Linked DNA regions of Homo sapiens: regions 2, 3 and 4 are each linked to region 1. Evidence: promoter capture Hi-C in 16 types of primary human blood cells and fetal thymus (Javierre and others, 2016). All regions are on one chromosome and are shown on one strand. The core of a region is centred on a gene start or on the middle of the fragment in contact, and the rest is flanking DNA. Distances in the headings are between cores, read along the strand shown. Region 1 holds the start of INPP5J (inositol polyphosphate-5-phosphatase J). Region 2 overlaps OSBP2 (oxysterol binding protein 2). Region 3 overlaps OSBP2 (oxysterol binding protein 2). Region 4 overlaps OSBP2 (oxysterol binding protein 2).

Region 1 (6,875 bases), core at 227-2,726:
CAACTCCAACACTACCTCTTTCATTGACACAACACCATCATCAGTATTGGTATCATCATCACCTCTACCTTTGCCATCACCATCACCTCCACCACCTTCACCACAACCACTGCTAGCCCCCTACTTCCATCATCACAGTTACATACATCATCACATCCATCACCACAGTCGCCTTCCCCGTCACCACTGTCACCATCTCCACTATCGCTGTCCAAAGACCTTTCTACCCCAACACTCTAATATGGCCTGAGTCTCTGCCCCTGCAAATTCCAGCAGAGATGCTGGCCTGAGAATACAGACTAGACCTACTGACAGTCAAGCAGAGGTAGGAAGTGCCTTCAGGAGAGGAAAGTGAGGCATCTGCCTTCATGTAGGAGACTGCACAGGCCCATGCAGATGCTCCATGTTGGTTAACAGGGAGCTCTGCACACACAACTCTGAACACTTTCTGCCTAAAGTGGGTGGGATCACTCCTCTCTAAGCCATGAGAAACAGATCCCACAGCCATCCCAGCCCAATCTGACCCTCATCACCCATTCACTCTTCTAATTCATTTATTCATTCAACAAACACTCCCGTAGGCCTGTTGGGGACCATGTCCTGGGCTGGGTCCTGGCTGTAGCAATTCTCAGGCCTGTTTGTAACTCTCTTGTCAGTCTGTTACCCCACTGCTGGGCCCTTCTCCACCCAAGTTCCCTTCCCCCAGATAGCTCGAAGGGCTTGTGCTCATCCTAGGTCACTAAGTTTTCTCACTGAAACACAGGAGACCTTCTCAGTTCACCAGGTGACCTTGAGCAAGTTCCCCTCCCAAACCACACCCAGTGAATACTGGAGAGAAGAAAGCTGACAGAAGCCGGGCTGGGTTAGGCCTGGCTGTGGGGACATCTGAGGGCAGCTAGGTGTCTGCAGAAGAGGAGGGGCTGGTGCTGAGGCCTGAGATGGGAAAAGACTGCAGTGGCTGGAGCCTGAGTGTCTGGTTCTGGGTTGGGAAGAATAGAGCCTGGGACTGGCAGTAGGAGTGGAGAGGGTGGCACCAAGACCTGAAAATGGGGCAAGGGTGGGGGCCGGGGCAAGCTCTGAGCTGGCAGGGAGCCAGGAAGGTCACAGGATCAGGGCAAGAACTCAGTTGTCTCTGAGGCCCTGGAGAGGGTGCAGACCTCTGAACCACCTGTCCTACCTTAAGGCAGGTGTGTTAATGCCCCTCCCTGGAGCAAAGGGCTGACCAGGCCTACGGCAGAAAGGTGAAGGTAGACAGACAGCCTCCTTCCTGCTGCCAGTTGGGACCTGGGCCAGGCAGATGGGTACACTCTCCCCTCCCCACTCCATGGCTGTTCCAGCCTCAGCAGCCAGTTTGAAGGATTCCCAGGGGGTAGCCACCTTGCTTCGGCCTCTTCCAGGCTGGGAAGTGGGAGCCTGTGCCTTTAAATTCTCAGCAGGTTGAAATGGCTGATGACATCACTGGTTCCCGGGAGCGGTAGAGCTGGAGCCGGAGCCAAGGGAGTCCAGGCTGCCGGGGGCTGCAGACATGGAGGGCCAGAGCAGCAGGGGCAGCAGGAGGCCAGGGACCCGGGCTGGCCTGGGTTCCCTGCCCATGCCCCAGGGTGTTGCCCAAACTGGGGCACCCTCCAAGGTAAGACCCCTGAGACCCAGTGCCCCCCGCTTTCCTGATCCCTGGTTCCACACACCCCCCCCACATACACTGCAGGCTCCCTGGTGCTCCTGACTGAGGGGCTGGTACTTTCCTCTGCTCAGCGAGCAGGGGCTAGGTGAAGAGAGCACCCTGGGGGCTGAGGGGCAGTGACAGGATGCCCGGAGACAGATGAAGTTAGCCATCTCCAGGAGCCCTTGGGAGAGTCCTGGACTGGGTATCAGAGGACCCAGCTGTGCTCCACCTTTGCTGTGTGACCTTGGCCAAGTTGCTTTTCCTCTCTGAGCCAATGCAAAATGAGGGGGCTTGTCGCTGAAGACTAAAACTGTGACATCTGGGATGGCTAAGTTGTTAGTACTGGAGGCGGTGTGATAGTTGGGGGGAAGCCGGCACACAGTGTGACACTTGGAGCCAAGGAGGGTGCCTAAAATGCCACCTCAAAGAACTGAGTTTGAGAAGGGAGGTGGAGATGGAGTTTTAGGTACTCTGAACTGAGAAGGATACGGGACAGAAACAGAAGTGCGTCTCCAGAGGCAGGGCCTCCCTGCGCCCTGTTACCCTACCTAGGGCCATCCTGGGGCAAGTATAGACATTCTTCTGCCCTCCTTGGTGAAGGACACTTTATCCTGTCTTCTGGAGACAGGGGACATCAGAGAGAATAGATGGGGAAGGAGGATAGGTCTCTACAGGACTCCGTGACTCCCCACCCCTCCCACCTGCCGGACATAAATGGGATACCTGCTTGCCTGTCCTTTCAGGTAGGGGAGAAAGTGGAGGATGTAAGAGGGCACAACCTGGGCACAGAGAGATGTGACACCAGGATCAACTTAGAATCCTGGACTTGCTCTGAATGCTAGATTCACACTTGGTGAGGATGGACTATTCAACGGGGCTAGATGGAATTCTAGCAAATGTTGGGCTCATAAATGCAGACAATGGGAGATGAAGATTCCCCAGAATATAATGTGGCCAGGAACCCTAGACCCCATCCCTTCATTTTACAGACAGAGAAACTGAGGCGCTGGGCAGAGAGGTACTTGCCTAAGGTCACACAGAGCTGGGCTTTGAATCTACACAGCCAGTCTCAGCTCCCAGCTCTTGCTCCTGAGTGGAGCTCTGGGAATGGGTAAGAGAACAGAGAGGGCTGTAACCAAGGGATTTGGATGTTTAGGGGGCGGTGGGGAACTGAGGGTTTCTGGGCATTATGAAGGAAGGGAGAGGTATTTAACAAGCTGCACCTGTAGGTCTGTATCTTGACAATAGAAAAAGAAAAGAAACAGGCTGTCCCCAGTGTGCCCAGACCTGGGATGTCAGGTCAGTAGCCGTGGCTGGGGGAGCTTCAGGGACTGCAGTGGGAGGGTTGCCCAGGGAAGCTGCCCCGAATGGGCAGGGTGTGGGTGCCAGCCAGGAAGGCAAGGCAAGTCCTCAGGTTTAGGTTCACACTCTGCCTCATTTGAGTCAGGGTCTGAGTTTCCCCATCTGTGAAAGAGGTTTCAGACTTAAAGGAGGGGTTAGGGTTTTGTGTCCTATCTCCTCCAAGACAGAAGTTGACCTGCAGCAGAATAGATTGAAGTGAGATAGTAGGAAGAACTTCCTTGGAAAGATGTGCCTTTCTTAGCTAGATGAACTCTGCCAGGGTCTATATGGAAGTTGGGGCCCAATGCCCTGGTTAGGGTCACTCTGAATCTTTGACTTGTCCTCCACAAGGTGGACTCAAGTTTTCAGCTCCCAGCAAAGAAGAACGCAGCCCTAGGACCCTCGGAACCAAGGTTGGCTCTGGCACCTGTAGGGCCACGGGCAGCTATGTCAGCTTCCTCGGAAGGACCGAGGCTGGCTCTGGCATCTCCCCGACCAATCCTGGCTCCACTGTGTACCCCTGAAGGGCAGAAAACAGCTACTGCCCACCGCAGCTCCAGCCTGGCCCCAACATCTGTGGGCCAGCTGGTGATGTCTGCCTCAGCTGGACCAAAGCCTCCCCCAGCGACCACAGGCTCAGTTCTGGCTCCGACGTCCCTGGGGCTGGTGATGCCTGCCTCAGCAGGGCCAAGATCTCCCCCAGTCACCCTGGGGCCCAATCTGGCCCCAACCTCCAGAGACCAGAAGCAGGAGCCACCTGCCTCCGTGGGACCCAAGCCAACACTGGCAGCCTCTGGCCTGAGCCTGGCCCTGGCTTCTGAGGAGCAGCCCCCAGAACTCCCCTCCACCCCTTCCCCGGTGCCCAGTCCAGTTCTGTCTCCAACTCAGGAACAGGCCCTGGCTCCAGCATCCACGGCATCAGGCGCAGCCTCTGTGGGACAGACATCAGCTAGAAAGAGGGATGCCCCAGCCCCTAGACCTCTCCCTGCTTCTGAGGGGCATCTCCAGCCTCCAGCTCAGACATCTGGTCCTACAGGCTCCCCACCCTGCATCCAAACCTCCCCAGACCCTCGGCTCTCCCCCTCCTTCCGAGCCCGGCCTGAGGCCCTCCACAGCAGCCCTGAGGATCCTGTTTTGCCACGGCCACCCCAGACCTTGCCCTTGGATGTGGGCCAGGGTCCTTCAGAGCCTGGCACTCACTCCCCTGGACTTCTGTCCCCCACCTTCCGGCCTGGGGCCCCCTCAGGCCAGACTGTGCCCCCACCTCTGCCCAAGCCACCCCGATCACCCAGCCGTTCCCCAAGCCACTCCCCGAATCGCTCTCCCTGTGTTCCCCCAGCCCCTGACATGGCCCTCCCAAGGCTTGGCACACAGAGTACAGGGCCTGGCAGGTGCCTGAGCCCCAACCTTCAGGCCCAAGAAGCCCCAGCCCCAGTCACCACCTCCTCTTCTACATCCACCCTGTCATCCTCCCCTTGGTCAGCTCAGCCTACCTGGAAGAGCGACCCCGGCTTCCGGTGAGGGGGCCCTCTCCCAAGAAAGGTGGCTGGGGCTTAGCTCTGAGGTTAGCCATTCTTCCAGGGTGGATGGTGTGCTCTACCTCAGCTTCTCTCTCTGAGGAAGAGTCTTTGGGGAGGGGGTTGCTGGGCCCACTCTGTGACGCTCAGAAGATAGCATCCCCTCCTAAGGAACTTGCCGCCTCTCAGTTGATCTCCCCAGGGAGAGTGTGGCAGAGGGACAGGATTCGGGGCCTCCTGTGGGTCCTTCTTAGGGCTTTGGCCCACACCTGCCTCCATTTAGTTCCCCAGGGAGTCCTGTGAAAGGAAGCTTGAGGGTGAGGGAGTGGTGCCAGGACTACACCCTCATATGCCCCTGCCCTCAGGATCACTGTGGTCACATGGAACGTGGGCACTGCCATGCCCCCAGACGATGTCACATCCCTCCTCCACCTGGGCGGTGGTGACGACAGCGACGGCGCAGACATGATCGCCATAGGGTGAGGTGGCAGGGCATGTGGACCCCCTCCTGAGCCCCTCGGGCCTTCCGGGCCCTCCACCCATGGCAGGGGCTTCCAGGGCACCTCTCCAATCCCATGGCCACCCTGCCCCCACCCCTCCAGGTTGCAGGAAGTGAACTCCATGCTCAACAAGCGACTCAAGGACGCCCTCTTCACGGACCAGTGGAGTGAGCTGTTCATGGATGCGCTAGGGCCCTTCAACTTCGTGCTGGTAACGCACCCCTCACCCCCTGGACAGCCAGAGACCCTGCTGAATTCCTGGCTCCAGCTGTACCCTGGCTCACTGTGGGGCCCGCTGGGCCTCTGTGGCTGGGTCCGTGACATGGGTGGGTGGAGGAGCAGACCTGAAGGTGGGCGCGAGGGCGGGGGAGTTGTGTTCTGTCCCCCAGCCACGTGGCCTCCCGCTGCAGGTGAGTTCGGTGAGGATGCAGGGTGTCATCCTGCTGCTGTTCGCCAAGTACTACCACCTGCCCTTCCTGCGAGACGTGCAGACCGACTGCACGCGCACTGGCCTGGGCGGCTACTGGGTGAGCCTGTGAGCAGGCCCAGAAGAGGATGGGACATGAAGGGGGCTTTAGATTAGTCCCCCCGCCCCATGCACAGCAAGGTCCCCTTCCCATCCTCCACCCTTTACCCTGCGGCCCAGCCCCCCCATGCACCACCCAATACCCCATCCTATTCCTCTATACCCCCGCCCTTTTCTCTCCCCACTGTGTCCCAGCGTTGTTCCTCATTTCTGTAGGACCCACCCACCTTCCACCCACATCTCCTCTCTAACCCCCGCTCCCAGTGCCTCACCTCCTGGCCTAAGCCCCGCCCATGAGCCATCCGACCCTGCCTCCCTAGGGTAACAAGGGTGGCGTGAGCGTGCGCCTGGCGGCCTTCGGGCACATGCTCTGCTTCCTGAACTGCCACTTGCCTGCGCATATGGACAAGGCGGAGCAGCGCAAAGACAACTTCCAGACCATCCTCAGCCTCCAGCAGTTCCAAGGGCCGGGCGCACAGGGCATCCTGGATCATGAGTATGGGCTGGGGTGGGGCCAAATAGAGCTTGGGTGGGGCTAGTGATGGGGGTTTTTGTACCACCTTGGGTGGGGCTTATGGAGAGAGGCAGGGCCTATGGGGTTTAGTGCCCACCCAAACTAGTTGTAGGAACACGAAAGCAGAGAGCAGTTGGATGGGGAGGGGCGGAGCTTGTAGGGTGGAGCTTTGCTGAGGGGCCCCGCCTTGCTGAAGGTCAGAACCTAATTTCCTGTAGACCGGTCCCTCTGCTTTTCCTCTGCCCTTTGGTGGGCTGGAGGCTCTGGCACCACTCACCCACTCACTACATCCCCTCGGGTTGGATGGGCTGGAAGGATCTGGGCTGAGCCCTTATCCTCCATGGACCTGTTGACACCCCCCACTGCCCCCCACATCTCTCCCATCCCCCACCCCAAACAGCCTCGTGTTCTGGTTCGGGGACCTGAACTTCCGCATTGAGAGCTATGACCTGCACTTTGTCAAGTTTGCCATCGACAGTGACCAGCTCCATCAGCTCTGGGAGAAGGACCAGGTGGGGTCCTTGTCCCCAGAAGCACACAGAGCATGTCCCAGGACACGCCTGTACCTTAGACTATGGTCCCTGTCCTCACCTGCCCCACCCCCTCCCTGGGCACAGCAGAGCCCAAGCTGTTGTCCAATCTGCTCTCCTGGACCCCCCACAGCTCAACATGGCCAAGAACACCTGGCCCATTCTGAAGGGCTTTCAGGAGGGGCCCCTCAACTTCGCTCCCACCTTCAAGTTTGATGTGGGTACCAACAAATACGATACCAGGTGAGCTCAGTCCGAGGAGGGACTGAGGGGAAGTGGGCTGA
Region 2 (6,875 bases), core at 3,195-5,694, 360 kb before region 1:
GTTGACCTGTCCAGCCCCCTGGCTTCTGGATCAGCTTTGGTCATTGCCTCTTGGGGCTGCCCTTGCCCCATCTCAAAGCCTCCCATTGCCATATAGCTTTCTGCTGACTACATCTTCCTGTCCCCATCACTGATCTTCCCATCTGTCTTCAAGCTCATAAAAACTCCCCGTCCTTGACCCCTCTGCTTTCTTCCTGTATACCCACTCTTTCTGCTGGGCAGCCTCTCCTCTTTCTTGCTGGGACCCTATCTTCCTGACCTCTTAGCTTTCAGCACACGCATCTCCAACGCCCTAGCCAGGATCAGCTCACTTGTGTCCCCCTGTGGGCACTTCTCAGCTGCTGATGGACAACATCTATAGATCTATAGCTGTGTAGGCCGTGGCCACTAAACAGTCATGCTTTACACCCACTGGGCATGCCAGACCCACAGGGGCGCTTAGAGCAGAGTGGGTGCAGAGCTCTGGGCAGCTGATGGCTGGGACCTCAGATGATGTCCTGGGCCACAGATCAGGAGACTTCCCTGCTGGGCTGGAGATGTACAGGGCCCCATATCACCAGAGAGACCAGAGCTCACCACAGGACCAAGCAGCCTTTCAAGAGAGTCCTTATTATCAGATTCTCATTCCTTTCTTATCCTTTATTAGAAAAATTCATATGAGGAAGGGCATGGAGTTTTCTGCTGTTCTGATGAGGAATCAGGCAACCCCAGGACCGTGTGATTGGTTGTTTAAGCAGCTTCCGAAGTGTAGGCCTCTTTTGACTTCGGGAAGCTTTGTCTTATTTCCAGCTGCCATCTGGTGGCTGGATTGAGGCCCTTCTGAGGGCATGTTGAGTCAACCAGGGCTGGCTTGCTCACCTGTCTTTATAAGGTCCCCACAGGGTCATCAGAATGTGAGACCTCTGGGGAGAAGAGTCCAACCAGGAGAAGGAACTTTCACCTACGCAGCCCCCACCCTCCAAGAGGGGCAAACCTGGCCCAGGGACTGGTCGATTGTGCCCCTCTTCAGCGTTCCCCTCCCTGTGCCACTCATTCTTCCAAATCCTGGTGTCTTGGTGCCTCTGCTAGGATTGCACCCCACCCGTCTCAGCCCTCAGGTCCACCAGGGCCCTTGGCCATGGAGCTTGTCCTCAACCCCTGGGCCTCGTTCCCTGGTCGGCATGCTCTTGCATCTTCAGCTGTGCCTTAACGTGGAGCACCAGTCCCCACGCAGCCTGACCCCACTAGGCCCTGTCCACCTCTGCCCCCACATGGTCACCTCCAGACTCTGTGGGCTCTGGCTCAGTAATCTTAAAATCAGAAGCCCTGTTCTGGCCACCACAGCAGTTACCCTTCCAGTGCCCTTCCAGATCTGACTCCTCCAGGTGGCAGTTGCGTTTTTCTTTTCCTTTCTCACTTGGCCTCGCCCTGTGGTTCATCCCTGCTGGGGTGAGTTCTTCCTCTCTCTCCTGGTTGTCTGGCTTCCTTCACACCTGTTTGTCCTCTGTCTAACCATGGGGCAGCCCAGGCACTAGACAGGTTGGGCCCAAATCCAGACTGTGTCACTTATAAGGTGGGTCCCTCTGCCTCTGTCTCTTCACCCACAAAGTGTATGTAATGATAAAGACCTTTTAGGGGCCAGGCATGGTGTCTCACGCCTGTAACCCCAGCACTTTGACTTTGGGAGGCTGAGGTGGGCGGATCACGAGGTCAGGAGTTCCAGACCAGCCTGACCAATACGGTGAAACCCCGTCTCTAGTAAAAATACAAAAATTAGCTGGGCATGGTGGCGCACGCCTGTAGTCACAGCTACTCAGGAGGCTGAGGCAGAAGAATCGTTCGAACCCGGGAGGTGGAGTTTGCGGTGAGCAAAGATCATGCCGCTGCACTCCAGCTTGGACGACAGAGCGAGACTCCATTAAAAAAACAAAACAAACAAACAAAAAAAACCTCTTAGAGTTGTCAAGAGGGATAAATCAAATCATGCTACAAACTGCCCAGCAGTCACTGGAGTGTGGTGGCCACTCAGCTGACGGAAGTAACATTGTCAGTCTTTGGGTGATGACCTGTCAGTTCTGCACCTTCTACCTTCAGGCAGGGGTGATAGGGCCCTTTGCTGAGCACACGTACACATGCTATGCAGCCACGTTCTGCAGTGACCCTCCCAGCCATGCAGACAACACTCCTCAAACCCAGGGTATCTGCTGTGTGGTGACCCCTTCCAACCATGCAGACCACACTCCTCAAACGCAGGGTATCTGCTGTGCGTTGACACCTCCCAGCCAGGCAGACCACACTCCTCAAACCCAGAATATCTGCTGGCCTTGATCAGTACCTGTCCCCTTTGTGTGAGTCCCTCACCACCTTTCTCTCCCATCTCCCAGGGACGTCCTTGCTACTCTGTATATTTTCACTGCTGCCTCCTGCCACACTGCAAAAGATCTTGCTTCCTCATGCATAGAACAAAACCAGATCCACAGCTGAGCCCCTCAGCTCTCTGCCATTACACGCTCCCTGCGTCCCCCCTGCCATATGAATCCCAAATGATTCCAGTGGAGACATTTCTCCCCTTTGAAGCAGTGCCAGCTTCAAAGGGTGATTTTCTCCCTCTTGCTGGGGGACTTGGTTTTATCGCTGTTTTCTTTTTCCTTTTCTTTTCTTTTTTTTTTGAGACAGAGTCTCTGTCGCCCAAGCTGGAGTACAATGGCATGATCTCGGCTCACTGCAACCTCCGCCTCCCGGGTTCAAGTGATTCTCCTGTCTCAGTCTCCCGAGTAGCTGGGTCTACAGGTGGGTGCCACCATACCTGGCTAATTTTTGTATTTTCGGTAGAGACAGGGTTCCACCATGTTGGCCAGGCTGGTCTCAAACTCCTGACCTCAAGTGGTCTGCCCGCCTCGGCCTCCCAAAGTGCTGGGATTACAGACATGAGCCACTGCACCCAGCCTTATTGCTGTTTTGTCACTCCTGTAGCCTCAACCTCTCTCCTGGCCTCTTCCCACTGCATATGACCCACCACTCACTACTTTGAAACTGTACTAGCCAAGGTCTCAGGTCACTTTCCAGACCTGGCAGATGACTAAGAAGTGAACCTGGGTGTCACCTTGAGTCCTGCCCTCCCTGATCCCTCATGTGCAGCTTGTCAGCAGATCCTGTCAGTGCCAGACCTGAGCACTTTCACATCTGCCCACTGCCCTCCATCTGCCTGGCCTCCAACCCAGTTTCACTATCTGACCTCCCAGAGTCTGGACAGCAAGAGTGAGTCTTTTAAAATCCAATTCTGCTCAGTTCCAGTTCCAGGTAGGATTAAGTGAGAAGGTTTCACTCTGCAGCTATGAAACATGGACAGGGCCAGGCACAGTGGCTCATGCCTGTAATCCGTGCACTTTGGAAGCCTGAGGCAGGCCGATCACTTGAGGCCAGGAGTTCGAGACCGGCCTGGCCAACATGGTGAAACCCCATCTCTACTAAAAATACAAAAATTAGCCGGGTGTGGTGGCGCACGCTTGTAGTCCAGCTACTGGGGAGGCTGAGGTGTGATAATCACTTGATCCCGGGAGGAAGAGGTTGCAGTGAGCCGAGATGGCACCACTGCATTCCAGCCTGGGTGACAGAGCGAGACTCTGTCTCAAAAATAAAATAAAATAAAATGTGGACAGAATGCACAGAGCAGCTATTTGAGCACCCTGAAAATTAAGTAGCCACAAGCAGACTAGAGAAGACCAGAATCTGAGGTAACACCAAACAGGTGGTGAGGTTACAATTTTTTCCCTCCAGTATCTTCTAGAGTGGACTCAGGGGAGACCCAGAAGTGAGCAGACAGAGAAAACTCCTGGAGAAGCCCTCTAGTTCAGGCTCAAGGAGGAAAGGGTCCCCTGTCAGTGATAGCAGTGGCGATGAGAGGCCTGCAGGTACCAAAAACTCAGAGGAATCCATGCACACCAGTAGGAAGAGCTCTGGGCCCAAGAAGTGAGGGAACCCCTGTTCCATTTTTCTCTCACTCTTCCTACCACTTAGCCCCCGATATAGGTGTGGTGGTGGGAAGTGGGCAGCCAGAGGACTGAAACAGAGCCCAAGAGAACCAGAAAAAAACAGGAAATCACAGAAAGAGAACACCTTGGGAAAGTGACCCCATAACGTTGTTTTCATGAACTCCTGGCTTCACGTTCAAGCCGCACATGGATGGATCTGATCCTAAACAGCATACTAAAGATTTTGAGAACTGAACTTAAAGCTGCATGAATACCCACGTCCCTGTGGCCACTGGCTGGCACACATGTGGAACAGATCCAACTAGTACTGCAAAGGGCCGGGCGCAGTGTAACCTGGCACTTTGGGAAGCCGAGACAGGTGGATCACTTGAGGCCAGGAGTTCGAGACCAGCCTGGCCAACACGGTGAAACCCCGTCTCTACTAAAAATACAAAAATTAGCCAGGCGTGGTGGTGCACACCTGTAATCCCAGCTACTCGGGAGGCTGAGGCAGGAGAATCGCTTGAGCCTGGGAGGCAGAGCTTGCAGTGAGCCGAGATTGCACCACTGCACTCCAGAGCAAGACTCTGTCTCAAAAACAAAAACAAATAGTACTGCAAAGGCTTTGAAAATGGAACAAACAGTGAAACCACCACCCAGAGACGGCTGGTCACTACCTGTGGCCTTAACCCAACTTATTTGATAGACTGCTAAAATGAAAATATCAAATTACCAACATCAGGAATGAAATAAACAATTAATAGCACTAACAAACATAAAAGGACAATACTACAAAAACATAAAATAGATACATAATACATAAAAGGAATGCTACAGACAACTCTGCTGACAAATTTGACAACTTGGATGAAATGAACCAATTCTTCAAAAATCAAATTCTAACACTTGCCCAAGATCAAATCCATAAACTGAATAATCCTATAACTATTAAAGAAGTTGCATTCATAGTTTAAAACACTTCAAAAAAGAAGTCTTCAGGCCTACATGATTTCACAGGTAAATTTTATCAAATATTTGAAAAAAGAATAACACTATTTCCACACAATCTCTTCCAGAAAACAGAAGAGGAATGAGTAATTTCTTTTCTTTTTTAATTTTTCTTTTCTTTTTTTTTTGAGACAGTGTCTCGCTCTGTTGCCCAGGCTGGAGTGTGCAGTGGTGCAGTCTTGGCTCACTGCAACCTCTGCCTCCCAGGTTCAAGCAGTTCTCCTCCCTCAGCCTCCTTAGTAGCTGGGATTACAGGCATGTGCCACCACGCCCAGCTAATTTTTTTTTTTGTATTTTTAGTAGAGACAGGGTTTCACCATGTTGGCCAGGGTCATCCTGAACTACTGACATCAGGTGATCCGCCTGCCTTGGTCTCCCAAAGTGCTGGGATTACAGGCGTGAGCCACTGCACCCGGCTTTTTTTTTTTTTTTGAGACAGAGTCTTGCACTGTTGCCCAGGCTGGTCTCAAACTCCTGACCTCAAGTGATCTGCTCGCCTTGGCCTCCCAAAGTGCTAGGATTACAGGAGTGAGTAATTTCTAACTCATTTATAAGGACAGCATACCCTGATACCAAACTGAACAAAGATAGTGTAAGAAAAGAAAACTTCGGACCAATATTTCTCATGAGCATAGATGAAAACATCTTCAACAAAATATTAACAATTTGAAACCAGCAATACAATAGAATATTACACCATGATCAAGTGGATTTCATGCTAGGAGTGCAAGATGAGTGCAAGATAGGTGCAAGATAGGTTCCATGTTTGAAAATCAATAAATGGGGCTGGGGGCAGTGGCTCACACCTGTAATCCCAGCACTTTGGAAGGCCAATGCAGGCAGATCACTTGAAGTCAGGAGTTCAAGAGCAGCTTGGCCAACATGGTGAAACCCTGTCTCTACTGAAAATACAAAAATTAGCCAGGCATGGTGGTGCACACCTGTAGTCTCAGCTACTTAGGAGGCTGAGTCAGGAGAATCGCTTGAACCCTGGCAGGGCGGAGGTTGCAGTGAGTGGAGATCGCACCACTGCACCCCAGCCTGGGCAACAGAGCAAGACTCTGTCTCAAAAAAAGAAAAAAAAAAGAAAATCAATATAAATGGAATCATAATATTAACAATCTAAGAAAAACTACATTATAATATCAATTGATACAGAAAAAGGCATTTGACAAAATTTAACATTATTCATGGTAAAAACTCTCAGCAAACTAGGAGACTCCTCCACCTGATTAAGGGCATCTTCAAGAAACTGACATCATATGTAGTGATAGAAGACTGAATGCTTTACTTTCCGCCTAGGATCAGTAAAGTCAAGGATGTCCATGCTCACCCCTCATATTCATCCTAATACTAGCCAGTATTATAATGCAAGAAAAAAGAAGTCAAAGGCACTCAGATTGGGAAGAAAGAAACAGAGCTATCCCTATTTGCAAGCGACATGATGGCTGTGTAGAAAAATCCCAGGAAATCTACAAAAATATTTTTAGAGTGAGTTTAACAAGGTCACAGAATACAAGGTCAGTACATAAAGGCCAGTCATATTTCTGTGTATTAGCAATGAACAATTGGTAACAAAAAATTTTTAAAAATCACTTACAATGACCCCATGAAATACTTAGATATAATTATAACAAAACAAATATAGTATCTATATGTAAATAGTGTTAAATACTGATGAAATAGAAGACCAAAATAAATGGAGAGACATACAATGCTCATGGATCAGAAGATTCAAGAGAGTAAAGACGTCAGTTTTCCCTTGACTGATCAGTAGCTTGAATGCAATTCCAAAAAAAATCCCAGCAGGACATTTTCTCAGCATAGACAAACTTATTATACATTTATATGAAAAGATAAAGAAATTAGACTAGCTAAAGCAACTTTGAAAAAGAAGAATAAAGGTGGAGTAATTACT
Region 3 (6,875 bases), core at 2,650-5,149, 330 kb before region 1:
GAGATCTAAAGGGTGAGGAGGAATTCACTTGTTGAAGATAGGAGGAGTACAATTGAAAATGAGGCCCAGAGGTTGGGGAGATCCTGGCTGTTCAGAGAGCTAAAGACACCTCATTGGTGGCAGGAGCAGAGGGTGGGGGTGGGGTGGGGTGGGGTGGGGATGCCTCAAGATGAGGCTGGAGAGACTAGCAGGGCAAAACATGCATCAGGAAAGGTGTTTTGTTTTGTTTTGTTTTGTACAGTCTTGCTCTGTTGCCCAGGCTGGAGTGCAATGGTGCAATCTCGGCTCACTGCAACCTCTGCCTCCCAGGTTCAAGCGATTCTCCTGCCTCAGCCTCCCAAGTATCTGGGACTACAGGCACGTGCCACCACACCAGGCTAATTTTTTGTATTTTTAGTAGAGACACGGTTTCACTGTGTTAGCCAGGATGGTCTCGATCTCCTGACCTGGTGATCCGCCTGTCTCGGCCTCCCAAAGTGCTGGGATTACAGGCGTGAGCGACTGTGCCCGGTCAGGAAAGGTCTTACCAGTCAGATTCTCCACCTGTGTTAGTCCGTTCTCACACTGCTAATAAAGACATACCCAAGACTAAGTAATTTATAAAGGAAAGGGGTTTAATAGACTCACAGTTGAGTATGGCTGGGGAGGCCACAGGAAACTTACAGTCATGGCGGAAGGGGAAGGAAACACATTCTTCTTAACATGGCGGCAGGAAGGAGACGAATGGGAGCTAAGAGGAGGGGGAAGCCCCTTATAAAACCGTCAGATCTCGTGATAACTTACTATCACGAGAATAGAATGGTCGGGGCCGGATGCGGTGGCTCACGACTGTAATCTCAGCACTTTGGGAGGCCGAGGCAGGTGGATCATTTGGGGTCAGGAGTTCCAGACCAGCATGACCAACATGGTGAAACCCCATCTCAACTAAAAATACAAAAATTAGGCGGGCATGGTGGTGCATGCCTGTAATCCCAGCGAATCGGGAGGCTGAAGCATGAGAATCACTTGAACCCGGGAGGTGGAGGTTTTGGTGAGCTGAGATCGTGCCACTGCACTCCAGCCTGGGTAACAGAAGGATACTCTGTCTAAAAAGAAAAAAGAAAAAAAAGAATAGCATAGGGGAACTGCCCCCATGATTCAGTTACCTTCCACAGAGTCCCTCCCACCATGGGGATTATGGGATTACAATTGAAGATGAGATTTGGGTGGGGACACAAAGCCAAACCATATCACCACTGGCTCTCGAGTATCAAAAGAACCTTGGAGGGGTGTTAGCTGGAGCCTGGTACTCTCGGAGCAAGGCAGGACAGTGGCCGAGGGGCCCGTGGGTCTTAGTGACAGACGGTAGTGTCGGAGGGTCTTGACAGTGGGAAAGGACAGAAGCATGGAGACTGAGAGCGCTTCAGTAGGCAGAGCCAAGCTCCATGTCTGGGCTTAACTGAACAGGACTGGGGTCTCAATCATGTCATTTACCAGCCATGTAACCTAGAACAAATAACCTCCCCCATCTTCAGTTCCTTTATTTGAAAACTAGGGCTGTTGTGAGGATGTGTGAAGTGTCAGCGCCATACCTGGTCCATATGGCCTCAGTACAAGTGACAGTGATGGTGATGGTGGGGACAGTTTGATCAGCTGCAAAGCGTCTTCTCCTGCTGAGTAGGAAGAGGAAGAGGACGGGAGTGCTACCATATCCTTTTATATACAGTTTCCCCAGTGCCATGTTAATCATTCTGCAGTTGCTGCCAAAGCAACACAGAATCCTACCCAGTTCCCATGGAAGATTTTCCTCCAAGGAGAATCCAGCAGTAGAGAGAGGCCAGCCATTTGCAACGTGGGGAGCTTTCACTCAGAGCCCTCAGTCAAACAGCCAGAATGAGCTCTGGGGCAGCTGACAGACCAGCCAAGGCCTCTCATATGATTTAATCTGACAGATACAAAAAGGAGCACAAAATGATTTTGCTGTGGCCTAGACATGCAGAGCTCCCACAATTACATGTGTCCTTTCATGAAAAATTAGATTATCACCGTAGCTCCAGCATAATGAGTCTCTAATGCCAAGGACTGTGTTAATTAATAAGTTGTACATGTTGACTTTTAAGTCAGGGCATCTTGGAGGGTGAACAATTTTATTTATTTATTTATTTTTGAGATGGAGTCTTGCTCTGTCACCCAGGCTGGAGTGCAGTGGCACCATCTCAGCTCACTGCAACCTCTGCCTCCCGGGTTCAAGCGATTCTCCTGCCTCAGCCTTCCGAGTAGCTGGGATTACAGGCGCCTGCCACCACACCCGGCTAATTTTTGTGTTTTTAGTAGAGTTGGGGTTTCGCCATGTTGGCCAGACTAGTCTCAAACTCCTGACCTCAGGTGATCCGCCCATCTCAGCCTCGCAAAGTGCTGAGATTACAAGCGTGAGCCACCACACCTGGCCAAACAATTTATTTTTAATAGCTTTGGAGAAATCTACATGTGATGACATGAAAGGGCAAAAAAATTACTCGGCATTAGCCCATTTATAGTATGTCTGGAGAGTCAGTTGACCATCTCGGAGACCATGTCCCTGCAGGAACAGATGAATAGGAAATGCTTGCTCCTGGTGCTGAGTGGTGAAAGTTTTGTTGCATCCTCTTAGAAGAACTTCAGTGCTCAACGGCTCTCAGAGGCTTCACTGTGTTGTCTCTGAGATGCAGCCTCGAGGTTGTAGGAGAGAGGATCTGGGAAGAAGTCCAACCTTGACAAGAGAGAGGGGGCCTGAATCTGGCAAGCAAGTGGGGGCCACATTCTCTGGGCATTCAGAAGCCAGGATTTCATAGGCCATGAAATCTGCTGTCTTTTAGAAGTGGGCTCCGGTCTGCTTTCTCTACACAAGTTCAAATTTTCCACCATTTCCAGGAGCCTGCAGCTAACACAAGTGAATGAGTGATTTCCTCGTCATTGACCCCATAAACTCAGATACTTGTAAAAGAGAAGTTAACTTACAGAGCATATAAAAATCAGAAAAAAACGGGAAGAGCCTACGGACAGTCCGGTACAGCTGTGTATGGATCACCCATTGGAACAAGCATTTCTTTAGGCTTCCAAGGCTGTTGGAGGACCCTAAGAGGGAAGAAAATGGTTTAGCTGGAGATGGTTTGGGTGCAGACTTTCCAGAAGGCAGTACCAGTGACCAGAAGGTGGACAGACTTCAATTCCAGCCCCAAGAGCACAGGCAGGGAGAAATGCTCTCTAAGAAGGAGGGTCTGCCCTTGAGATTCTTTGTCTGCAACAGCTTTGCATCTTCCACCAGTAAAAACTTTGTTCCCATTTTAGATCACAGTTTAATTTTATTTTGTGCCATGCTCTTTGAGGGTAAGAGGAATGTGAATCTCGGTGAAAACATGTGTTGTTTCTTGTGTACCCCTCTATACATGTGACAATGGCTATCATCTGAAAGAAGCAATGTGCAAGGGGAGAGGGTGACCCCATCTCCGTGCTACAAGGTGACTGGGCTGCAGAAGGAGGATGCAGCCCCTTGGGTCAGCAGATGGGTTTTGTTGGAGTGGCCCATTGGGTGTGGGTGTCTTGGGCTGGAGGTGATGTGGATGACGCACAGGGCTTATTCTTTGTGCCCTCTCAAGCTTCACCTTTGGCCCTGGCCTACAGGGATTCCGGGTTCAGGAAAGACTTTGAATCTGCAGCCACATGAAAATACATGGCACTGCTGTGGACCCACTTTTTAAGGAGGGGGGGGCGGGGAAAGCATAGAAAAGATTTGACAGCTTGAAACTACATCAGCCAGTTTGTAGAGGTTTTGGCCACTCTTCTAGTTTCCATACACATGATCCGTGATGGATTTGGAGGGGCATGGGAAAGAGGACAAAGCCAGAGGCTCCTCATTAGTCTTGGGAATTCAAGGAGACTTCAGTTTGGTAGCTGCACTTGGAGAGATTGTGTGTGTGCGCACACACATGTGGTTGCTCCAAGGCAGTTTCTACTGCTGCTTGCTCATGTGTCTGTAGCTTCCAGGCAGTTTTTCAGCAAGACTGTAAGCCAGATGCAAAAGCAAACCTGAAGAGATATGTCAAACTGCATTAAAAAAAAAAAAAAAAAGAGGGAGCATACTTTATAGGTTAAAGGAAATTTTTTTGATATGTGGTAATTTACTGAGAATCCACTGACAAATGTGGTTAAGGGTCATTTCAGGACCAATAAGCTTTTGGATGAACAATTTAAAAATCCGTTAAGGGATATTCCTTCCCGTATCTCTATGTTTGCTTCATCGAATCACGTGGTTGCCCTGAAGGGGAAATAGGATTCATTTGTTGGTTTTTAAATTCCTTGCTTGGAAGGATTTGGACAGTCAAGGCCAATGTGATCCCTGTTTCAAACTTCTCTTTTTATTTTTCTTTCATTTTTTATTTATTTATTTATTTTTGAGACAGAGTTTCTCTCTTGTTTTGTCACCCAGGCTGGAGTGCAGTGGTGTGATCTCGGCTCACGGCAACTTCCGCCTCCTGGGTTCAAATGATTCTCCTGCCTCAGCCTCCCAAGTAGCTGAGTGCCCACCACCATGCCCAGCTAATTTTGTATTTTTAGAAGAGACGGGGTTTCACCATGTTGGCCATGATCTTGAACTCCTGACCTCATGTGATCCACCCGCCTAGGCCTCCCACACTGTTGGGATTACAGGTGTGAGCCACCATGCCCAGCCAACACATCTCTTTTTCAGGCTGCAGGAGCTTATATATTGGGGGATTCTTCTTTTTTTTTTTTTTTTTTTTTTTTTGACAGAGTCTGGCTCTGTCATCCAGGCTGGAGTGCAGTTGTGTGATCTCGGCTCACTGCAACCTCCACCTCCCAGGTTCAAGCGATTCTTGTGCCTCAGCTTCCCGAGTAGCTGGGATTACAGGCGTGTGCCCCCAAACCTGGCTAATTTTTGTGTTTTTAGTAGAGACACAGTTTCACCATGTTGGCCAGGCTGGTCTCAAACTCCTGACCTGAAGTGATCCGCCCGCCTCGGCCTCCCAAAGTGCTGGGATTACAGGCGAGAGCCACCGTGCCCCGCTCATATTGGGGCATTCTAAATAAAATCAGTCCTGTCTCTTTAATGTATCCGTGCCACAGTTTTGTGAAATACATTGTCAATCTTAATTCTGCTTTGCGGATAGAGAAAAATGAATTGTTGAATGGAAGAGTGTCTTAGCTAGGAAGAGCTGCAAGATAGGAAGGTCATCATCATCTCTCAGGGCTAGACCCAGGCCAGTGGGGATTTCAGGAGCCTTTATAATAAATGGTTTAAGAACCCTCTTATTCTGCCCCCACATCAGTGGGTATACAGATTATTATCACTCAATGGGTATATAGATAAGTATTACCAAATATATAGAGTCAGAGAGATTATGATAAAATATCATAATCAAAACAGGAAAAAACAAAGTATTTAGGAACCGCATACAGAAGTTTCAATCAGGCCAGGTGCAGTGGCTCATGCCTGTAATCCCAGCACTTTGGGAGGCTGAGATGGGTGGATCACTGGAGGTCAGGAGTTCAAGATCAGCCTAGCCAACATGGTGAAACCCCGTTTCTACTAAAAATACGAAACATTAGCCAGGTGTGGTGGCACATGCCTGTAATCCCACCTACTCAGGAGGCTAAGGCAGGAGAATTGCTTGAACTCGGGAGGTGGAGCTTGCAGTGAATTGAGATCGCACCACTGCACTCCAGCCTGGGCGACAGAGCGAGACTCTACTGTCTCAAAAAAAAAAAAAGAATTATCAATCACTATGGTTTGCATGATAAGAAATAGTTTATGAATACAAGTATTTTTTTCATCCACCATCTGCAGTATTGTTTACAGAAGAAACTGAGGTTATAAACCTTCCTGTAAATGCTTCCTGCAGACATCTACTTACAGGCCCACGGGTAAAAAGTTTGCATTTATACTTTTTAATGAATAGTCTCTTTAGGGTTTAATTAGTCATTGTGTCTATGCATGAATCATTCATAATCTGGTCTTGCCACCAGCATATGGCAATTAAAGTCAGATGAATAGAAGTAATATTCTCAAGCAAAATGAACTGTACTCTTCGGCCAATTATCATTGGTTGGCAACATGTTTTATAGAGATAAAAGTTGATTGGCAGCTCTTACAAGTTTTGGTTTGTCTTGTCTCTTCGGGAGAAAGTGAACCCTATGAAAAGCACAAGCCTCCGGTCTTCCACACCAGCACTGTGAGGGCCACAGTCTCTCATATTCCCCAGCCAGCCTAACACTGGGGAGGTGGTCTGAGCTCATGTGAGTAATGTTAATAATCACCACTATGTGTGCCTACTGTGTGCCTGGCATGTTTACATGCATTATGGGTCATCTTCCAAGTGACTTGTCCACAATCACTGAGTTAGTAAATGGCAGAGCCTGGATTTTAATCCAAGACTATCTGATTCCAGGTTTTCTGCTCCATCCAGTCCACCACATTGTCTCAAAACTGAAGATAAGAGTAAATTAGATTGTAGTTCAGCTAAAAGGTTGACTTGAAAAAGGATTTAGGAGCCGGGTGCGGTGGCTCACGCCTGTAATCCCAACACTTTGGGAGGCTAAGGTGGGCGGATCACTTGAGGTCAGGAGTTCAAGACCAGCCTGGTCAACATGGTGAAAACCCATCTCTACTAAAAATACAAAAACTAGCCAGGTGTGGTGGCAGGTGCCTGTAATCCCAGCTACTCAGGAGGCTGAGGCAGGAGAATCACTTGAACTCAGGAGGTGGAGGTTGCAGTGAGCTGAGATCACACCACTGCACTCCAGCCTGGGAAAAAAGAGGATTTAGGTCTGGGTACACTGGTTCACACCAGTAATCCCAGCACTTTGGGAGGCTGAGGCTGGACGATTGCTTGAGGACAGGA
Region 4 (6,875 bases), core at 1,980-4,479, 280 kb before region 1:
GCCAAATTTAGCATAATTCTTAAGGGCCCTAGGGTCTTTGGAATGGTAAATGAATATTAGCTTCAACTTAAAGTCACCAGCCGCATTGTCCCCTAAGAAGAGCCAACCTGTCCTTTGAAGTCAGGCGTTGACTTCTCCTCTGTAGCTATGAAAGCCCTAGATGACATCTTCTTCCAACAGAAGACTGTTTCATCTACATTGAAACCCTGTTGTGTAATGTAGCCACCTTCATCTATTATCTTAGCTAGATCTTTTGGATAACTTGCTGCAGTTTCTACATCAGCACTTACTGCTTCACCTTGCCCTTTTAGGTCATGGAGATGGCTTATTTCCTTAAACCTCATGAACCAACCTCTACTAGCTTCAGATTTTTCTTCTGCAGTTTCCTCACCTCTGTCAGCCTCCATACAACTGAAGAGAGTTAAGGGCTTGCTCTGGATTAGGTATTGGCTTAAGGGAATGTCATGGCTGGTTTGATCCTCTATCCAGACCACTAAAACTTTCTATCAGCAATAAGACTGTTTCCCTTATCATTTATGTCTTAACTGGAGTAGCAATTTTAATTTCCTTCAAGAACATGTCCTTTGCATTCATAACTTGGCTAATTAGTGCAAGAGGCCTAGGTTTGGGCCTGTCTTAACTTTCAACATGAGTTCCTCACTAAGCTTACTGGTTTTTAGCTTTTGATTTAAAGTGAGAGCCATGCAACTCTTTCTTTCACCTGAACACTTTGAGGCCTTTGTATGGTTATTAATTGGCCTAATTTCAATAATGTTGTGTCTCAGGAAAGGGAGGCTCAAGAAGGAGAGAGATGGGGGAATGGCTGGTCAGTGGAACAGTCAGAACACATACAACATTTATTGATTAAGTCTGCCATCTTATATGGATGTGGTTTGTTGCACTCCAGCAATTACAGCTGTAACATCAAAGATCTCTGATAACAGATCATCATAACAGATATAATAATGAAAAAGTTTAGCCGGGTGCAGTGACTCACACCTGCAATCCCAGTACTCTGGGAGGCCAAGGTGGGCGGATCACCTGAGGTCAGGAGTTTACAGCCAGTATGGCCAACATGGTGAAACCCGTCTCTACCATATATACAAAAACTTAGCCAGGCGTGGTGGTAGGTGCCTGTAATCCCAGGAGGCTGAGGCAGGAGGATTGCTTGATCCTGGGAGGCAGAGGTTGCAGTGAGCTGAGATCGTGCCATTGCACTCCAGCCTGGGCTACAAGAGTGAGACTGCATCTCAGAAATTAAATAAATAAATAAATAAATAAATTGTTATATTGTAAGAATTACCAAAATGTGACACAGAGACATGAAGTGAGCCTATGATGTTGAAGAAATGGCACCAATAGACCTGCTCAATGCAGGGTTGCTACTGACCTTCAATTTGTTTAAAAAAAAAAAAGTGGGGGTGGGGGACGGCCAGGCACGGTGGCTCACACCTGTAATCCCAACACTTTGGGAGGCCGAGGTGAGCAGATCATGAGGTCAGGAGTTCGAGACCAGCCTGGTCAACATGGTGAAATCCCATCTCTACCAAAAATACAAAAATTAGCCAGGTGTGGTGGCACGTGCCTGTAATCCCAGCTACCTGGGAGGCTGAGGCAGAAGAATTGCTTGACCCAGGAGGTGGAGGTTGCAGTGAGCTGAGATCGTGCCACTGCACTCCAGCCTGGGTGACAGAGTGAGACTCTCTCAAAAAAAAAAAAAAAAAAAAGGCAGTATTTGCAAAGCAGAATAAAAGAGGTATGCCTGTATACTGCCTTTATCCATTCATCAGTTGATGGACATTAACTTTGGGCCCATAATGAACAATGCTGCTATGAACATTCATGTGTGAGTTTTTGTGTGGATATATGTTTTCATTTTTCTTGGGTGTATACCTAGGAGTGGGATTGCTGGGTTATATAATGACTGCCCAACTGTTTTCTAAAGTGATCATATCATTTTATTTTATTTTATTTTATCTTACATTATTTTTTTGAGACAGGGTCTCAACTCTGTCACCCAGCTGGAGTGCAGTGGTGTAATCTTGGCTCACTGCAACCTCTGCCTCCCAGGTTCAAGCAATTCTCCTGTCTCAGCCTTTCATGTAGCTGAGATTACAGGCATGCACCACCATGCCTGGCCAATTTTTGTATTTTTAGTAGAGACAGGGTCTCACCATATTGGCCAGGCAGGCTGGTCTTGAACTCCTGACCTCAAGTGATCCACCCGCCTTGGCCTCCCAAAGTGCTGGGATTACAGGTGTGAGCCACCGCACCCAGCCTGATTGTACTATTTACATTCCCACAGTATGAGAGTTCCAATTTTCCCACATCCTTACCAATATTTGTTATTTTCTGCTCTTTTGATAATAGCCATCCTAGTAGGTGGGAAATGCTAGTATCTCACTGTGGGTTTTTTTTTTAATCCCCTTCCCTCCCTCTCACTCTGGTTTTGATTTACATTTCTCTAATAACTAATGACATGAGCATTTTTTCATGTGTTTATTGACCGAAGAAGATATCTGTGTATCTACTTTGGAGAAATGTCTATTCAAATACCATTTTTAAGTTTGGTTATCTTTTATTGATATTTCATCATTGAACCAACATTCATTTCTGGAAGAAACCTCACTTAATATGTGTTATACTTTTTATGTATTGCTGGATTCAATTTGCTAGTACTTTTCTGAGTATTTTTGTGTCTTTGTTCATGCGGTATATTGGTCTGTTGTTTTCTTTTTTTGTGATCTTTGGTTTAGGTCCTTGGTCTGTGTAGAATTGATATTATTTCACTCTTAAATTTTATTTATTTATTTATTTATTTTTTGAGATGGAGTCTTTCTCAATCACCCTGGCTGGAGTACAGTAGCACAATCTTGGCTCACTGCAACTTCCACCTCCCAGGTTCAAATGATCCTCCTGCCTCAGCCTCCTAAGTAGCTGAGATTACAGGCACCTGCCACCATACCCAGATAATTTTTGTATTTTTAGTAGAGATGAGGTTTCACTTTGTTGGCCAGGCTGGTCTCAAACTCCTGAACTCAGGTGATCTTCTTACCTCGGCCTCCCAAAGTGCTGGAATTACAGGCCTGAGGCACCTGCACCCAGGCTCATTCTTTTTTCTTTTTCCCTGAGAGGGAGTCTTGCTGTTCACCCAGGCTGGAGTGCAGTGGCATGACCTCGGCTCACTGGAACATCCACCTCCCAGGTTCAAGCAATTCTTTTGACTCAGCCTCCCGAGCAGCTGGGACTACAGGTGCCCACCACCACGCCTGGCTAATTTTTGTATTTTTTGTAGAGATGGGATTTCACCATGTCGGCCAGGCTGGTCTCGAACTCCTGACCTCGTGATCCACCCGCCTCAGCTTCCCAAAGTGCTGAGATTACAGGTGTGAGCCACCGTGCCCAGCCTAATTCTTAAATATTTGGTAGACTTCTTCACCAAAGCCTTCTGAGCCCTGAGTTTTCTGTTGTAAGATTTTAAACTATAGAATCAATTTCATTAATAGACTCCTCAGGTTTTTTTTATGAGTGAGTTTTGGTATGTTTGTATTTCAAGGCTTTGTTTATTTTGTCTAAGTTGTCAAGTTTGTGAGCAAAAAGTTGCTCATGATATTTCCTTGTTGTTCTTTGTCTGTGAGATCTGTAGTGATTTCCCCTCTTTCATTGCTGATATTAGTCATTTGTATCATTCTTTTTTCGTCCTCAATCTGGCTAGAGGTTTATAGATTTTATTGATATTTTCAAGGAATTGGATTTTTGTTTTATTATTTTTATATACTGTTTTTCTTATACATTCTTTTAAAACACATATACTATAGATACCCTATGAAAAGTAAATAGAATTATAGTATACATACTGTTTTGCTCCTTGATCTTTTTCACTGACTATGTCTTAAAGGTTTTTTCCATATTAGTACACAGAGTTCCATTAGATTCCCTAACAGCTATATAATATTCTGTTATATTCATGTTTCATAGTTTAAATAACCAGTCTCTTTTTGAAGGGCATTTAGGGCGTTTCCAGATGTTTTGCTATTGCAAATAGTGCTTTTAGGATGTTTCATTCTAAAAAGCATCCTAAAAGCTATTGCAAACAGTGCTGAATGTTTCCATCCCAAAAACTGTCCTAAAAGCTATTGCAAACAGTTTTGAAATGTACATTTATATATATCAATATTTGGTCATATGTATATCTGTATGTCTGTAGGATAAATGACTAGAACTGGATCAGTAAATGGTTGTCCTTTTTTTCCTTTTTAAATCAACCTTATTATTATTGAATTTAAATGCAACAAAATGAACTGATTTTAACTGTTCTTTGAGTTTTGACATGTATACACCTGTGTAGCTGCCACCCTAAAAAAGATATAGAACATTTTAATCATCCCCAAAAGTTTTCTCATACCTCTTTGCAGTCAATATCCCCCAACATCTTGCTTTAGATAGCAACTGATCTTTATGCACTATAGTTTTACTTGTTCTAGAATTCCATTGTATGAAATCAAACAATAGGACGTGTGCCCTCTTTCATTCAGTATCATGCTTTTGAGGTTCATCCATGTTATGTGAATATGTAGTTTGTTCGTTTTTATTGCTAACTCGTTTTCCATAGTGTGAATATACCACAATTTTTCATCTGTTAATGGATGTTTGAATAGTTTCAGTTTGGGGCTGCTATGAGCCATAAAACTGCTGTTAACATTTAAAATGCATGTATTTTCATGGACATATGTTTTTATTTCTCTTAGGTATATCTAGAAGTGGAATTATAGGTCATATCATAAGTGTATATTTATCCTTATAAGAAATTGCCAGCTGGGTGCAGTGGCTCATGCCTGTAATCCTAGCACTTTGGGAGGCCAAGGCAGGGGGATCACCTGAGGCCAAAACTTTGAGACCAGCCTGGCCAACATAACAGTACCCCATCTCTACAAAAAAATTTAAAAATTAGCCAGGCATGATGGTGCACGCCTGTAGTCCTAGCTGCTCAGGAGGCTGAGGTGGGAGGATTGCTTGAGCCCAAGGAGATTAAGAGTGTAGTGAGCTATGATCATGCCACTGCACTTCAGCCTGGGCAACAGAGTGAGACCCTATCTCAAAAAAAGAAAAGAAAAGAAAGAATTTAAAGAAAAGACAAAATAAACTGCTACACTTTGTTTTCCAAAGTGATTATACCATTTTACATCCCCACCAGCAAGGTATGAGAATTCAGTTGTCCCGCATCCTGCCAACCTGGAATTGTTGGTCTTTTTAAGTTCACTTCTTCCTGTAGGCATGTAATGGTATCTCATTACGGTTTTAATTTATATTTCTCTAGTTACTAATGATATTGAGCATCTCTTCATGTTCTTATTAGCCATTTGTATGTCTTCTTTTATAAAACACCTTTTCAAATCTTTTGCTTATGGGAGGGTGATGTTTGCCTTATTATGCATTTGTAGAGTTCTTTACATATTGTGAATACAAGTTGTCACGAACATATATTGGGAAAAACTTCTCCTGTGGTTTACCTTTTCATTTTTTAATGGTATCTTTCTGAGATCACATGATTTTAATTTTGATGAAAACTACTTATCAGATGTTTCTATTATGATTAGTCCTTTTTGTGTTCTAAGAAATTTTTGCCTACCTAAAGATAGTGCTATGTTTTCTTCTAGATGTTTTATAGTTTTAACCTTTACATCTAGGTTTATGTTCCATTTTGAATTAGTTTTTGTGTATGGGGTGACATAGTTGTCAAGGTTACTTTTTGCCATATGTATATTTAGTTGTTCAAGTACTATTTTTTTTAAATGAAGCTTCTCCTTCATTGACTTACCTTGACAGCTTTATTGAAATTCAGTTGATCAGGCTGGGCGTGGTGGCTCACACCTGTAATCCCAGCACTTTGGGAGGCCGAGGCGGGTGGATCATTTGAATTCAGGAGTTTAAGTCCAGCCTGGCCAACATGGTGAAACCCCATTCTCTACTAAAAATACAAAAAAATTAGCCGGGCATGGTGCTGTGTGCCTATAGTCCCAGCTACTTGGGAGGCTGAGGCAGGAGAATTGCTTGAAACCCAGGAGGCGGAGGTTGCAGTGAGCTGAGATTGTACTACAGCACTTCAACCTGGGTAACAGAGCTAGACTCTGTCTCAAAAAAAAAAAAAAAAATTCAGTTGATCACATATGTGCATGTCTATTTCTGAACTCTGCTATGTTCCATTATAAGTCCATACTTACGCCAATACTACACTGCCTTGATTATTTTAGTTGTATAGTAAATCATGTTAGTAGGTAATTTAAGTCCTCCAGGTTTGTTCTTGTTTTCCAAAACTGTTTTGGCTATTCTTCATCCTTTGATTTTTGAGACAGCATCTCACTCTGTCACCCAGGCTAGAGTGCAGTGGTGTGATCTCCGCTCACTGCAACCTCCGCCTCCTGGGTTCAAACAATACTCCTGCCTTAGCCTCCCAAGTAACTGGGATTACAGGTGCGTGCCATCATGCCTGGCTAATTTTGTATTTTTAATAGAGGCAGGGTTTCACCATGTTGGCCATGCTGGTCTTGAACTCCTGACCTCAAGTGATCCACCCGCCTGGGCCTCCCAAAATGCTGGGATTACAGGCGTGAGGCACTGCACCCGGCCTGATTTTCTATATAGATTTAAGAATTGGCTTGTCAATTTCAACAAAAAGTCTCCTGGGTTACTGAATGGGATTGCATTGAATCTATACATTAATTGTGGAAAATTGATATTTTAACAATATTTAAGTTTCCAATCCATGAACTTGGTATGTCTCTCCATTTATTTAGGTCTTTAATTTATCTTAGCCATGTGTTGTCTTTCACATATTTTGTTAAACTTATTTGTATTTACTGTTTTTGATGTCATTT

Evidence for each region. Contacts are between HindIII fragments. The CHiCAGO score rates a contact against its expected background, and 5 or more counts as called.
Region 2: a contact is called between a fragment that was not itself captured here and the fragment with the promoter of INPP5J in region 1, in 1 of 17 cell types (M1 macrophages). The highest score is 5.8, in M1 macrophages.
Region 3: a contact is called between a fragment that was not itself captured here and the fragment with the promoter of INPP5J in region 1, in 1 of 17 cell types (M1 macrophages). The highest score is 7.8, in M1 macrophages.
Region 4: a fragment that was not itself captured here is called in contact with the fragment with the promoter of INPP5J in region 1 in 2 of 17 cell types (M2 macrophages and M1 macrophages); the score reaches 5.6 in M2 macrophages.

Annotation. Positions count from the first base shown.
Region 1 is chr22:31,121,490-31,128,364 of GRCh38, forward strand. INPP5J (inositol polyphosphate-5-phosphatase J) reads left to right here and starts at 1,477. Exons shown (of 13, transcript NM_001284285.2): 1 at 1,477-1,630; 2 at 3,356-4,521; 3 at 4,887-5,000; 4 at 5,124-5,232; 5 at 5,432-5,548; 6 at 5,868-6,043; 7 at 6,462-6,573; 8 at 6,725-6,834. The coding sequence starts at 1,526. The HindIII fragment of the contact is 6,854 bases long and covers 1-4,829 here.
Region 2 is chr22:30,754,793-30,761,667 of GRCh38, forward strand. All of the region lies in intron 2 of OSBP2 (oxysterol binding protein 2), which reads left to right. Among named protein-coding and RNA genes, the nearest start is that of MIR3200, 27 kb to the left of the region's middle. RefSeq lists a silencer at 730-879. The HindIII fragment of the contact is 7,351 bases long and covers 770-6,875 here.
Region 3 is chr22:30,786,585-30,793,459 of GRCh38, forward strand. The region is part of intron 2 of OSBP2 (oxysterol binding protein 2); the gene reads left to right. Among named protein-coding and RNA genes, the nearest start is that of MIR3200, 58 kb to the left of the region's middle. The HindIII fragment of the contact is 575 bases long and covers 3,613-4,187 here.
Region 4 is chr22:30,844,172-30,851,046 of GRCh38, forward strand. All of the region lies in intron 2 of OSBP2 (oxysterol binding protein 2), which reads left to right. Among named protein-coding and RNA genes, the nearest start is that of MORC2-AS1, 75 kb to the right of the region's middle. The HindIII fragment of the contact is 5,133 bases long and covers 664-5,796 here.